Regions from separate parts of the Homo sapiens genome. Here region 2 is linked to region 1. Evidence: promoter capture Hi-C in 16 types of primary human blood cells and fetal thymus (Javierre and others, 2016). All regions are on one chromosome and are shown on one strand. The core of a region is centred on a gene start or on the middle of the fragment in contact, and the rest is flanking DNA. Distances in the headings are between cores, read along the strand shown.

The links. Contacts are between HindIII fragments. The CHiCAGO score rates a contact against its expected background, and 5 or more counts as called.
Region 2: a fragment that was not itself captured here is called in contact with the fragment with the promoter of SDS in region 1 in 3 of 17 cell types (M1 macrophages, M0 macrophages and megakaryocytes); the score reaches 7.4 in M1 macrophages.

Annotation. Positions count from the first base shown.
Region 1 is chr12:113,399,792-113,406,913 of GRCh38, reverse strand. It overlaps SDS (serine dehydratase), which reads left to right and starts at 3,027. Exons shown (of 8, transcript NM_006843.3): 1 at 3,027-3,146. RefSeq lists enhancers at 4,589-5,088, 5,089-5,590. The HindIII fragment of the contact is 9,232 bases long and covers 2,872-7,122 here.
Region 2 is chr12:113,187,132-113,194,253 of GRCh38, reverse strand. It overlaps RITA1 (RBPJ interacting and tubulin associated 1), which reads right to left. Exons shown (of 4, transcript NM_032848.3): 4 at 1,886-2,944. The coding sequence ends at 2,437. Among named protein-coding and RNA genes, the nearest start is that of RITA1, 5.0 kb to the right of the region's middle. RefSeq lists a silencer at 1-150 and enhancers at 2,109-2,762, 6,892-7,122. The HindIII fragment of the contact is 1,633 bases long and covers 434-2,066 here.

The sequences.
Region 1 (7,122 bases), core at 1,778-4,277:
TGCAAAGACATTTCTCTAAGGGTCTAAACCATACTCTCTCTTATCTTTAAAAAAAATTTTTTTATATATAACTAGGCCCACACATCCAGACCCTCTCCTGTTTTAAACATTCAAGAGTAGCCCCTGTTGTAATAAAGATTTTAGTCAAAAAAGAAGTCAGGTAACACACAACAAAAGCAAGCAGTTGAAGATCTGAGAGGAACTTATCTGTTTATATTCTTAGGGCTCCATAAGGTTATGGAAAAACAGAGGTTTCTCCCCAAAAAGGAGTCTGGCACTTTCTCTGTTTTCCTTAAGGGAGTCCCAAGCTGTTAGAAATTATTTTAGGTTCCTTGAGCTGTAGAGGGTGGCAAGAGAAAGGAGACAGGCAGAAGTAAATTGGAAAAAACAGAAATCAGTCAACTGAGAAGAAAAAAGAAAACTTTTTCTCAAAAAACAAGATCCTGGCCAAGTGGGGCGGCTCTCACCTGTAATCCCAGCACTGTGGGAGCCTAAGGCCGGTGAATAACTTGAGGCCAGGAGTTCAAGACCCGCCTGGCCAACATGGTGAAATCCTGTCTCTACTAAAAATACAAAAACAATAGCCCAGTGTGGTGGTGTGCGCCTGTAATCCCAGCCACTTGGGAGGCTGAGGCAGGAGAACCACTTGAACCCAGGGAGTGGAGGTTGCAGTGAGCTGAGATCATGCCACTGCACTCTAGCCTGGACGACAGAGTAAGACTCCATCTCAAAAAAAAAACAGATCCTAAGAGAGAAAAAAATGCATTAAGGCCCTATGAATAAATAAATAAATAAATACACACACACACACACACACACACACATCTTAGATATTCGCCTTTAATTAAGCTTTTAACCATTGAGCTCTTTAAAAAATCCTTTTAAATCTCATCACCATATTTTAGCTGGGACAAACTGCTAATATTTCAAAAGTAACACAAACATCAAACCAGAAAGGACTTGATTTAGGAACCAAGCCCAGGCCACGGTGGTGAAAAAGGAACAGAATCTTAGCTACTGAACTAGCGTGAGGTGACAGCCATGTAGCCTCTTTCAGTTTGGCTTGGCTAGCAAAAGATGGCCTTGTTATGTAAATAATGCCCCTCAGGTAATCAAAATCCTTGTCTCTCTCTCTCTTTTTTCTTTTGCTGGCTGTTTTTTCTTTTTCCTTTTTTTTTTTTTCCAGCTGTGGGTATTTAGCCAATTCATGAGACCTTGTTCGCCATAATATGAAACTTTCCTTCAGATTTGACCAAGTCAAATGGAGTTGGTCCAGTCCAATGGGGAAAAGACAGAAGCAACAAAACAACAACAGAAACAAAAACAGTTAAGCAAGGGAAACAAACAATCAAGCAATTTATACGATTACTGCACGCTCTAAAAGTAGGGAGAAATTAAGACCAGCTGGTTGTTAACCCTAACTTCTAGTCATGGGGCCCAGGCTGAAGACCGCTCTCTACCATCCTAGAAGCGGGGAAATCTCAAACTTGCCTTCCCTGCCGGACACAAGCGAAACTCCAGAAAGGAGCTGCCTGCTTGCCATCATCATGGAAGCCAGAAAACTCACCTTCCTTGTTGGAAGTGAGTAAAACGCAGAAAAGGAGCTGTTCAGGGAAATCAAGCTTAGATATCAACCAATTGTGGGAGATCAGGAGTTCTCTGGAGGTGGGGAGCTCCCAGGCCTCAGCAAACTGTCCTATTTTGGAGGGCAATCAAGATCGCTCAAGGCCGGCATGGTGGCTCACGCCTGTAATCCCAGCACTCTAGGAGACTGAGGCGGGTGGATCACTTGAGGTCAGGACTTCAAGACCAGCCTGGCTAACATGGTGAAACCCCATCTCTACTAAAAATACAAAAAATTAGCTGAGTGTGGTGGCACATGCCTATACTCCCAGTTATTTGGGGGGTTGAAACAGGAGCATCGCTTGAACCCAGGAGATGGAGGTTGCAGTGAGCCAAGATCATGCCATTGCACTCCAGCCAGGGTGACAGAGCAAGACCCACCAAGCACCAGTAGGAGACTTGTCAAAGGTCAGGGCCACCTCCACCCAGGGTCCCTTTCATGAGTCTCCAATCTGTAAATCAAAAAGAATCAAAAAGATTGAGACAGGACTCAATCCATTTAGAAATTTATTTCGCCAGGGTTAAGAATGCACCTGGGAGACAGGTCTGTGCTTTTCTCCAGAGATGACTTTAGGTGTCAGTATTTAAAGGAGAAAAGCAAGCTGGAGGGGAAAGAAGGAGGCTATGGCCACATTACCAAATCCACAGTTTGTAAGAGAAGAGGGGCAGATAGGGAAGTAGCCAATTATGTATTTGTCTTGATCTCAATAAATCGGCACTTTACATAAGATAAGGTGAACATAGAGTAGCGACCTGTGGAGATATTTAACTTTTTTTTTTCTTTCTGTTGTGAAGGCTGGAGTGCAGTGGCGAGATCTAGTCTCACTGTAACCTCTGCCTCCCAGGTTCAAGCAATTCTTGTGCCTCAGCCTCCTGAGTAGCTAGGATTACAGGCACGTGCCACCACACCCGGCTGATTTTTGTATTTTTAGTAGAGACGGGATTTCACCATGTTGGCCAGGCTGGTTTCGAATTCCTGACCTCAGGTGATCCACCCGCCTCGGCCTCCCAAAATGCGGAGCCAATATTTAACCTTTCATCTGAAGCTATCTGCTTAGGAACTAAAGGAAAGGCAGTTTCTTACATGACTCAGCTTTTAGCTTAATTCTTTTTCTTTTGGCATAGTGAGTTGGGGGTCCCAATTTTTTATTTTCCTTTCACGAAACTGAGGACAGAAAGGGGAAGTGGAAAGAGGGAGGAGGAGTGGGTTGTGGGAAAGGCAGGAGGAAGCTGCCAAAGAAGAAAGCTTGGCCAGATTCCACCTCCCTTCTGACAGCCTCAGTGGCCTCAAGCCAGGGGGGTGGGTCCTGGCAGGAGGGAGGGGGGGGTGTAGCCAGCCCCAGGGCCCCATTGGCTGCCCAGAGGTGCCAGAGGAATAAAGCCCAGGACCAAGTAGCCCCTGGGACCATTCAGAAGACTGTCCACCCGTCCTCAGCCCCCTCTCTTCGTGGGCTATCTACTCAGTTGATCCCTCCCTCGCTGGCTTGGCTCTGACTCCTGCTCAGACCCATCACCTTTGCCGGGTAAGTGGCCCCATCCTCAGTCCCACCTCAGGACTGGAGTGTCCCGGGCTAGCCTGTGGTTTCCCAGGGGAAGAGGGAGACATAGAAAGAGTCTGTCAAGGCTGGGCATGGTGGCTGATGCCTGTAATCCCAACACTTTGGAAGGCTGAGGTGGGAGGGTTGCTTGAGGCCACAAGTTCAAGACTGAGCTGGGCAACAGAGTGAGACCCCCCCCAATCTCTACAAAAAAAATTTTTTTTTTTTAAGACAGAGGTCTCACTCTGTCACCCAGGCTGAAGTGCAATGGCACAATCTGGGCTCACTGCAACCTCCACCTCCTGGGTTCAAGCGATTCTCCTGCCTCAGCCTCCCGAGTAGCTTGGACTACAGGCGTGTGCCACCACGCCCGGCTAATTTTTGTATTTTTAGTAGAGATGGGGTTTCACCATGTTGGCCAGGCTGGTCTCGAACTCCTGACCTAAAAAAAGAATTTAATTAGTATAGTGTGGTGGTGCACACCTGTAGTCCCAGCTACTGGGAAGGCTGAGTTGGGAGGATCGCTGGAGCCCAAGAGGTCGAGTCTGCAGTGAGCAATTATTGCGCCCCTGCACTCCAGCCTGGGTGACACAGCAAGACCTTGTCTCAAATTTTTAAAAAACAGCCATTTGGGCCTAAACACTGAGTTTGTGTCCAGTTCTGTGCCTCAGCTTCCACATCTGTAGAATGGGGATGAGCATAGCGCCTTCCTCCTCAGGTGGTTGTGACGGTGAAAGGATGACCTGCACTTAAGGTGTCCAGCCCAGATTTCATAATAGTTCATATCGACTGAGCACTTACTGTGAACCAAGTGAAAGGGAAGGTGGCTTCCGACTGCCGGAGTGGGCAGACAGCGGCTTCAGGGCTCCCTCCCTCCTCCTCCCCGGGCACAACCTCTTCTGAAGTCTTGCGATCCTTGGGGCAGGGATCCTTGGGGCAGGCTGGATGCAGTTAATGGATGCTCACTTCACGGAAAGCCGCGGCAGAGGGAGCCCTGTCCTTTTACCTGAAGGCATCCCATGGCACCGCCTGGGACAAACGGCGAGAGAGGCGCCCCAAACCCACCTGAAAAGGGTCTTCGTGGCCGGCTCCTCTGACTCCCACCCCGATTGTCCCTGAGGCCAGGCCTTGGTGACCTACACCGGCCTTTAATGTCAAGTCAGTCGGTGTGGTGGCTCACGCCTGTAATCCCAGCACTTTGGGAGGCCAAGGCAGGCAGATGACTTGAGGTCAGGAGTTCGAGACCAGCCTGCCCAATATGGTGAAACCTTGTCTCCACTAAAAATGCAAAAATTATTCGGGCGTGGTGGTGCACGTCTGTGATCCCAGCTACTTGGGAGGCTGAGGCAGGAAAATCGCTTGAACCCAGAAGGCGGAGGTTGCAGTGAGCCGAGATCATGCCGCTGCACTCCAGCCTGGGTGACAGAGGGAGGTTCTCTAAAAATAACTAAATAAAAACCGGGATCCCATTGTTTGGGGATTAACCTCCAGGAGCTGAAAGTTCATGCCGATTTGGGGATGTCCTGTTTTGAAGTTTGCCCCAGTCTCTGATTTTTATTCGAGAGATCCAGCGGAGAGAGGGTGTCTGTTCAAGTTCCCCTCCCAGGCCCCGAATGTCAGTTAATTCAGATAGACAAGGGGTGACCTATTTAGGGGATGCTAAGTCTGGCGGGGCAGTTGGAATCCCCACCCCTCATTCTCCCTCTGACCAAGGGATGTCTGGCTCATTCTGGGAGCGGGGGATGGATGTCCAAGCTAGGAGTGCCCAGGACAGGGGGCTGGACAAGGTGGCATTGGAGATGGGTCTCTGGCTAGCCACCCTTGCCTGGCCTTCTGGGATGGTGGAGGGAGGGGGAACCAGAGAGCCCCTTGGCCATCGTCAGCTGATCTCTTCTGGCCCGGCCCAAGTTGAGGAGAATCAAATCCTCCCTGAGACTCTCAGCAGAAGGCAGGGGAGATGGGAAGGCTGGGTGGGTGGACGTGGCTGTGGCTAGACCCCGGGCCACCCCAGCTGCTTCATCCCCCAGAGCCCATCCAGAAGCAGGAGCCTGAGCCACACCCATGGGTCGCAGAGAGAGCCTGAGCCCTGGAGCCAGCTGCCCGAGTTCAAATCCTGCCTCCCTGCCTCACTCACAGCGTGACTTTGGGCAAATTATGTTAATATTCCCCTTCCTGTTGCTGTGTACCAAACTACCCCAAAATGTGACTTAAAACAACAGCAAGCCAGGTGCTGTGGCTCATGCCTGTAATCCCAGCAGTTTGGGAGGCTGAGGTGGGCAGAACGCTTGAGGCCAGGAGTTGGAGACCAGCCTGGCCAACATAGCAAAACCCCATCTCTACTGGAATGAATGAATGAATGAATGAATGAATGAATGAATAAAATTTAAAAGCTGTGATTAGTCACTGCTATAATAATTATGACAAAATTAATAATTATGAAAGAGCTTTTCCTAACTGAATATTGGGCTTCCCAAAAGTTAGGTTATTTTGTTTTTTTTTAAATAAATATTTATTGAACATCTACTATGAGTCAGGCATTTTGCTGGGTCCTGGGATCGTCCATTTAAGCCAAGATACTTGGAACTGCATGTCAGAAGAGCCAGCTGCCAGGTTGTTTTTGTTTGTTTGTTTGTTTGTTTGAGACAGAGTCTCGATCTGTAGACGAGGCTGGAGTGCAGTGGCGCGATCTCGGCTCACTACAAGCTCCGCCTCCCGGGTTCACGCCATTCTCCTGCCTCAGCCTCCCAAGTAGCTTGTATTTTTAGTAGAGACGGGGTTTCACCATGTTAGCCAGGATGGTCTCGATCTCCTGACCTCGTGATCCGCCCGCTTCGGCCTCCCAAAGTGCTGGGATTACAGGTGTGAGTCACCGCGCCCAGCCCAGGTTTTTTTTAAATGTATGCATTTAAGTAAGTAATAGAGGCACATGGTAAAACATCAAACTGTGCAAAAGGTGGGTGCTATGATCCCGAGGGCCAGCTCTCCTCAGAGGCCCCACCCTGGCCAGCCTGTCATGCATGTTTCCTGAAATGCTCTGTGCACATGGAAACATGTGGAACAAAACAAAAAAAAATTCAAATAAAAAAATTAAAAAAATATATAAAAGAAACATGTGGACTATATGTGTGTGTGGATGGATTGTGCGTGTGTGTGGATGGATTGTGTGTGGGAGTGGATCGTGTGTGTGTGGATGGAGTATGTGTGTGTGGATGGATTATCTGTGTGTGTGGGTGTCCCTGAATTTTTCACATAGATAGATAGACTATTCTTTTTTTTTTTTGAGACACAGTCTCACTCTGTTGCCCAGGCTGGAGTGCAGTGGCTCGATCTTGGCCCATTACAACCTCCACCTCCTCGGTTCAAGTGATGCTCCTCCCTCAGCCTCCTGAGTAGCTGAGATTACAGGTGCCTGCCACCATGCCTGGCTAATTCTCTTTCTTCTTCTTTTTTTTTTTTTTCTCAAGACAGAGTCTTGCTCTGTCACCCAGGCAGGAGTGCAATGGCGCGATCTCGCTCACTGCAACCTCCGCCTCCTGGGTTCAAGTGATTCTCCTGCCTCAGCCTCCTAAGTAGCTGGGGTTACAGGCGTGCGCCACCATGCCCAGCTAATTTTTTGTATTTTTAGTAGAGACGGGGTTTCACCATGTTGGCCAGGCTGGTCTCGAACTTCTGACCTTGTGATCCACCAGCCTTGGCCTCCCAAAGTGCTGGTATTACATGCATAAGCCACTGTGCCCGGCCTCACCTCATGCATTTTGAAAGCTCCAAGGTTTGAGTGTTCTCTCTTCAGCCTCCCAGCAAATGTGTGAGAGGTCAGGAGTGGAGGGTGATCCCTGATAGAGCTGAGGCCAAGGCGTGATTACCTGTCTGATGTCACATGGTGAGTAGGTGGCCCACTTGCGATTAGAGCCCAGGTCTCCAGGATGCTCTCTCGTCTGAGGCCTTGCTTGGCTTGCTGGGA
Region 2 (7,122 bases), core at 1-2,500, 210 kb after region 1:
TTGTTTTTTTTTTTTTTAGACAGAGTCTTGCTCTGTTGCTCAGGCTGCAGTGCACTGGTTGGATCTCAGCTTACTACTGCCTCTGCCTCCCAGTTTCAAGCGATTCTCCTGCCTCAGCCTCCCGAGTAGCTGGGATTACAGGCATGCGCCATCATGCCTGGCTAATTTTTGTATTTTTAGTAGAAACAGCGTTTTGCCATGTTTACCAGGCTAGTCTCAAGCTCCTAACCTCAAGTGATCCACCCACCTTGGCCTCCCAAAGTGCTGGGATTACAGGCATGAGTCACCATGCCCAGCCAGGAAAGAGAGGTTATTTCTGGCCTATGTCTGTGGAAACAAAGGGGAAGATGGGAAGGCAAAAGAGAGATGGATGTTTCAGGAAAAACTGAGGTGGGCGTGAGTAACTAATTGTTAGTGAAAGTTCCAGGAAGCTTAAACATTCTATATGTTTAAAATGCACATTGCAGCTGGGCGAGGTGGCTCACACCTGTAATCTCAGCACTTTGGGAGGCTGAAGCGGGAGGATCACTTCAGGCCAGGAGTTTGAGACCAGCCTGTACAACATAGTGAGACTCATGTCTCTTTTTTTTCCCTTTTTTTCTTGTTTCTTACTGGAAGGAATGAAATCCCTCTCTATAAATTTTTTTTTTTTTTTTTGAGACAGAGTCTCGCTCTGTTGCCCAGGCTGGAGTGCAGTGGCACGATCTCGGCTCACTGCAAGCTCCGCCTCCTGGGTTCACGCCATTCTCCTGCCTCAGCCTCCCATGTAGCTGGGACTACAGGCGCCTGCCACCGCGCCCGGCTAATTTTTTGTATTTTTAGTAGAGACAGGGTTTCACTGTGTTAGCCAGGATGGTCTCGATCTCCTGACCTCGTGATCCGCCCGCCTCGGCCTCCTAAAGTGCTGGGATTACAGGCATGAACCACCGCGCCCAGTCCAAAAAAATTTTTAAAAGAAGTTAGCCAGGCATGGTGGTGCATGCATGTAGTCCCCGCCACTCAGGAGGCTGAGGGGGAGGATGGCTTGAGCCGGGAGGTCAAGTCAGCAGTGAGCTATGATCGCACCACTGCACTCCAGGGTGGGCAAGGAAACGAGGCCCCGTGTCTTAAAAAACAAAACAAAACAAAAAAAAGAAACACCAAAAACAAACAAACATACAAACAAACAAACAAAAAACAAAGCATGTTTGCATGAGAGCACAGCTGGCCTGCCTGACCCCACAGGTGTTTCTGTGTGTCACTGGTCCTGGGCACTGCAGGTCTCCCTCCCCAGCAGTGTCCACTCTTCCCTGCCCCAAGGCAGACGTACCAACCAGATGATGTGGCTTCCAACTGGACTCCCTAAAATCCTGGTGCCTCCTGGAGGTGCCTTACAGGAAGACGGGGGCAAGGAGAGGCCCAGAGCCCAGCCCACACTGCCCAATCTGGGTGCAATTCCATCTGCGCAAAGGCTTTGTTGCTTTTCCTAAGTCCTGGGCTGCATCCTAAGTGCTCTGCAGACACACATGTCACTGTCTGGCTTTCTTGGACCCTCCACTTGGCAAAGTCCTAGCCATTGTGTTTTATTTCCCACCTTAACACACACACACACACACACACACACACACAAACAAACTTAAAAACAAAACTAAAAAAATACTATTGTCTGTACTCTGAGCTAAGGAAGAGCCGGCCAACCACAAGTTAGTGGCATTAGCCAGAAGCCGACGGGAGGAAGAGTCCAGCGCTTCCCGAAGCCCCAGATTCCCAAACTTCAGTTACCCACTCACCGCTGTCATGTTGCCTGCCACATCCTTGTACTATCTGTTGTATTTAACTTTGTTATTTAAATCAACTCAGGCCTAACAATGGCCTTTACCCTGAGGGGGAAAAAAAGTGACATTCATGGCTTTGATGAGCTGATCTATTTAGTACATGAAAATAAATTCAGAAGCATATTAAGATGAAACAGTGTTCACTCACAAATCTCCCAGTTGCCGTTGTGTTCCCCAGGCTTCACAGACAGCCTGGAAAAACTCCTCTAGGGCTTGCAGACTTAGCTGGAAACTAATCCTGAGCAGGAAGCTTGGCTTGAAGGGATAAGAGGGGACCCTCCAGGTTGGCAATCACGCCGTTTATTCGCACTTGGCAGCAAGACAATGGATGATGTGGGAGGTGCCAGGCCCCTGGGTTGGCACTAATTTGGAGTATGGTTGAGACAGGGCTGGAGAGAGGCATCTTAGAGGTGGCCCCCAAATCCGCAATCGGGAGAAAAAGGCAAGAATCGACTAGAGATTGTCAGGATAAAGGGAGGCACTGCCCACCCCTGCTATGTCTGTCTGCCCCCACAGGGGCTTCTTTAATACCTGGGGTTCCCTGGGTGATGAATGTCCTCCTACCCTGGCAAGGGGCCATACCTGTCGCCGTGGCCCCATAGGCAACCCTGATGAAAGAGTATCATTTCCAAGGGGGCTTTGGTTTCTGGGTGGCCCCACCTCGTCGTGGGGTAGATGGCACTGAAATGCTAACTGAGCGAGCCCTGGAAGTCACCAGGGGGCTCCGGAAGGTCACCCCTGACGTGGAAGGCCTGAGATCCTGAGGCCCATTTGTGTGGGGGGCACTGGTGGCTGGATGACCAGTGCTGGGGACATTCAGGTGGGTGAGGGAATGGGAAAGTCCCCGCTTCAGGGGGCGTGAAGAGTGTAACCCACCCATAGATAACTTCTGGGAGTCTGCCGCTGGCCCCGGCTCTGTCTTGGAGGGACCAGCTGGGTGAATGGCTCGCAGTGGTGCCTCCCTGGGGCGGGGCGAGTGGCTACCCCTGGGGGTAGGTGGTGGCGTCCACAAGAGAGCACGGAGCTTTGCGGCATCCCCCTTCGCCATCCGCGGGGCCCCGAAGCTGGCGCCTTCAGATCGGGAGCCAAACAGCGACTCATCACAGTAAGACGGGGTGTGGCTGATGGGTCTGGCAAATGGAAGATAAACGCCATGAGCTGGGGGATGAACAACCCCTCAAAACTTTAACAGCTCTCCCACCCACCCTGGGATGGCAGCAGCAGAGGAGGGTTGCCTGCAGATCCCAGGAGTCCTTGTCTCCCAGTCTGAAACCTACAGCGAGGCCACAGCCTCTTAAGCACCACTGCCCCCGGTCTCTGCTGATTTTCCCTGCGAAACATCCACTGCCCCTGCATCCTGACCCCATTCCCAGACATGTGCCCCAGGCCTGGACAATTTGCATATTCCATCCTCCTGGCCACATGGATTGGTTCACGAATGGCCAGATGACCCAAGCCTGTCCAATCAGAATCTGCCTTAGGACCTTGCAGAAACCACTAGGAAAGAGATGTCTTTCTGCCACCTGACTTTACTTCTTGCTAAGCTGATAGGATGTCAGCCCAAAGCAGCTTGTGGCTATCTCCTTCCTACTGAAGATTGAAGGGCATGCAGGGAAAAGCAGCACTAAGGTGGAGACAGACAGTTCCAGCCACAGTTTGAGCCCCTGTTACAGGAGCCCCACATGCCTTCTCCTGGGGAAGCCAGTTTGAATAAGTTTTCTGTCACTTGCAATTGAGAGTCACAATTAGTATAACCTTAGTCTTTATAGCCTCCACTTTTTCTTTTCTTTGTGAGACACGATCTCACTCTGTTGTTCAAGTGGAGTGTAGTGGCACAGTCACAGATCACAGCAGCCTCAAATTCCTGGGCCCAAGCAATCCTCTCACCTCAGCCTCCCTAATAGCTGGGACTACAGGCACAGTGCCACCAAGCCCAGCTAATTTTTTTGTTTTTGATTTTTAGTAGAGATCAGATTTATGTTGCTCAGGCTGGTCTTGAGTTCCTGAACTCAAGCAGCCCCCTGCCTTAACCTCTCAAAGTGTTAGGATTGCAGGAGTAAGCCACCGTGCCCATTTTCTTTTCTTTCTTTCTTTTTCTTTTTTTTTCTGAGACAGAGTCTCGCTCTGTCACCCAGGCTGGAGTGCAGTGGTGCAATCTCAGCTCACTGCAACCTCCGCCTCCTGGGTTCAAGCGATTCTCCTGCCTCAGCCTCCTGAGTAGGCGGGATTACAGGCATGTGCTACCATGCCCAGCTAATTTTTGTATTTTTAGTAGAGACGGGGGGGGTTTCACCATGTTGGCCAGGCTGGTCTTCAATTCCTGACCTCATGATCTACCCACCTCGGCCTCCCAAAGTGCTGGGATTACAGGCAAGAGTCACTGCGCCCGGCCTTTTTTTTTTTTTTTTTTAAGAGACAGGGTCTCACTCTGTCACCCAGGCTGGAGTGCAGTGACGCTCGCTGCAGCTGCGAACTCCTGAGCTCAAGTAATCCTCCCACTTCAGCCTCCAGAGTAGCTGGGACTACAGGTATGCACCACTATGCCCTGCTAATATTTTTATTTTTTGTAGAGACAGGGATCTCACTATGTTGCCCAGGCTGGTCTCAAACTCTGGAGCTCAAGCGATCCTCCCACCTCAGCCTCCCAAAGTGCTGGGACTACAGGCCTGAGTCAGCCTGTCTGGCCTTTTTTTTTTTTTTTTTTTTTATTCAACAGATATTCACGGCATACCTGCAAGATTCCACGCCCATAGTTTTTTTGGCCAGGACTGAAAGTGCTTCTATCCCCAAACTGCAAGTCTTTGAAAGGGCAAGCTTTTGCCACTTGGTTTAGCTGCTCAAACCACATTGGCTAATGCCTGTATATGTCTGGTGCCAAGGTTTTTGCTCAATAACTTCTCTACCTCTTATGCAACCCCTCACTTGACACCCTCTACCTGTTGGCATCCAGAAGAAAATTCCACCCTCCAGGTGAGCAAGGAGTTGTCACCTCCCTTTTCATGGACACCATACTTCCTAATGCAGCCTATCTTTACCTCAGTGTTTTCAGCCATGTTGTAGGTATCAGTGTTGCTAATCTCCACCTGACCCTGCCTTGTCTACAGAACTGGCAATAACTGATTCTTGTTTTTATAATAGGTATCATTCCCATTCTCATTTCATTTCTCTCATCTGAAATATGTCCCTGTGGTTCAGAATGAACCCTAACTTTAGCTGGCCAGTTCTTATGGACTGAATTGTGCCCACCCAAATTCATATGTTGAAGCCCTAACCCCAAATGTCTCTACACTTGGCCTTAATTATTTAGATTAATTAAAGGTAATTAAGGCTGGCCAGACATGGTGGCTCACATCTGTAATTCCAGCACTTTGGAAAGCAGAGGCGGGAGAACGACTTGAGCTCAGGAGTTTGAGACCAGCCTGGCCAACACAGTGAAACCCCGTCTCTACTAAAAATACAAAAATTAGCCAGGCATGGTGGCGTGCACCTGTAATGCCAGCTACTCGGGAGGCTGAGGCAGGAGAATTCCTTGAACCCGGAGGTGGAGGCTGCAGTGATCCGAGATGGTGCCACTGCACTCCAGCCTGGGCGACAGAGCCAGACTCCATCTCAAAAAAAAAAAAAAAAAAAAAAAAAAAAAAAAAAAAAAAAAGGTAACTAAGGCTAAATAACATTATAAGGGTAGGGGATCCTAATCCAATAGAACTGGTGTCCTTATGAGAGGAAGAGACATCAGGGGTGTGTGTGTATACAGAAAAGGCCCTTGCATGTAATTGAAGGATTAAAAAAAAATGAGAAAAGGCCCTATGATGACACTGTGAGAACGTGGCCAACTGCAAGCCAAGGAGAGAGGCCTCAGGAGAAACCAAACCTGCCAACACCTTGATCTTGGGCTTCCAGCCTCCAGACTGTGACAAAATAAATTTGTGTTGTGGCCAGGCGCGGTGGCTCATGCCTGTAATCCCAGCACTTCGGGAGGCCAAGGCAGGTGGATCACCTGGTCGGGAGTTCAAGATCAGCCTGACCAACATGGAGAAACCCCGTCTCTACTAAAAATACAAAATTAGCCAGGCATGGTGGCGTAATCCCAGCTACCAGGGAGGGTGAGGCAGGAGAATCGCTTGAACCTGGGAGGCAGAGGTTCAGGTTAGCTGAGATGGCTCCACTGCACTCCAGCCTGGGCAACAAGAGCAAAACTCCGTCTCAAAAAAAAAAAAAAAAAATTAAGTCAGGCATGGTGGCATGTGCCTGTAGTCCCAGCTACTCAGGAGACTGAGGCAGGAGAGTCGCTTGAACCCGGGAGGTGGAGGTTGTGGTGAGCCAAGATCGTGCCACTGCACTCCAGCCTGGGCAACAGAGCGAGACTCCATCTCAAAAAAAAAAAAAATTGTGTTGTTTAAGCCACCCAGTCTGTGGTATTTTGTCATGGTGGCCCTAGCCAACTACTGTGCTAATCTTCTGTGTCTTTGTCCAAACCACTGATAACAATAAACAGGACAGAGCCCTGTGGCTCACCACTAGACACCTCCCTCCAGGCTGATATTAATCTGAAACAGTCCAAATAATCTAATTCTAATCTAATTAATTAACAACAATAACAATTTGCATTAGTTCCTATTTTTCTAACTTGTTCATAAAAATGCAGCAAGAACCATTTTCAATTTTTTTTTTTTTTTTTTTTTGGAGACAGGGTCTCACTCTGTCACTCAGGCTGGAGTGCAGAGGCGTGATCTCAGCTCATTGCAATCTCTGCCTCCTAGGCTCAAGTGATCCTCCCACCTCAGCCTCCCGGGAGCTGGGAGTACAGGCGCACACCACCACACTTGGCTAATTTTTGCATTTTTTATAGAGACACAGTTTCACCACGCTGCCCAGGCTGGTCTCAAACTCCTGAGCTCAAGTGATCCCACCTCAACCTCCAAACGTTCTGGGATTACAGGCATGAGCTACCCCATGTGGCCAAAACCCATTTTCAAAATGACTTCAGAAACACCACATCTATGTCATTTCAAGGATCGAACACATTAATATTAATAAGCTTATGCAAATTTCTCTGTGATCTTATGCCTCAGCTGACTCCTCTGGGCCTCAGATGCCCAGTTTGTGACATTTGGGGATAGGGAGTTCACCATCACAACCATCAACACTACCATTTATTGACAGCTTTCTAAGTATTAGGTTACTGTGCGAAGCACTGCAGACCCCTCTCTCATTTAATCCATCAACAATCCCCCTAGGTAGGAATAATTGGTCCTATTTTCCACATGAGTAAACTGGCTCAGAGAGGTCAAGATGCTTGCCCAAGGTC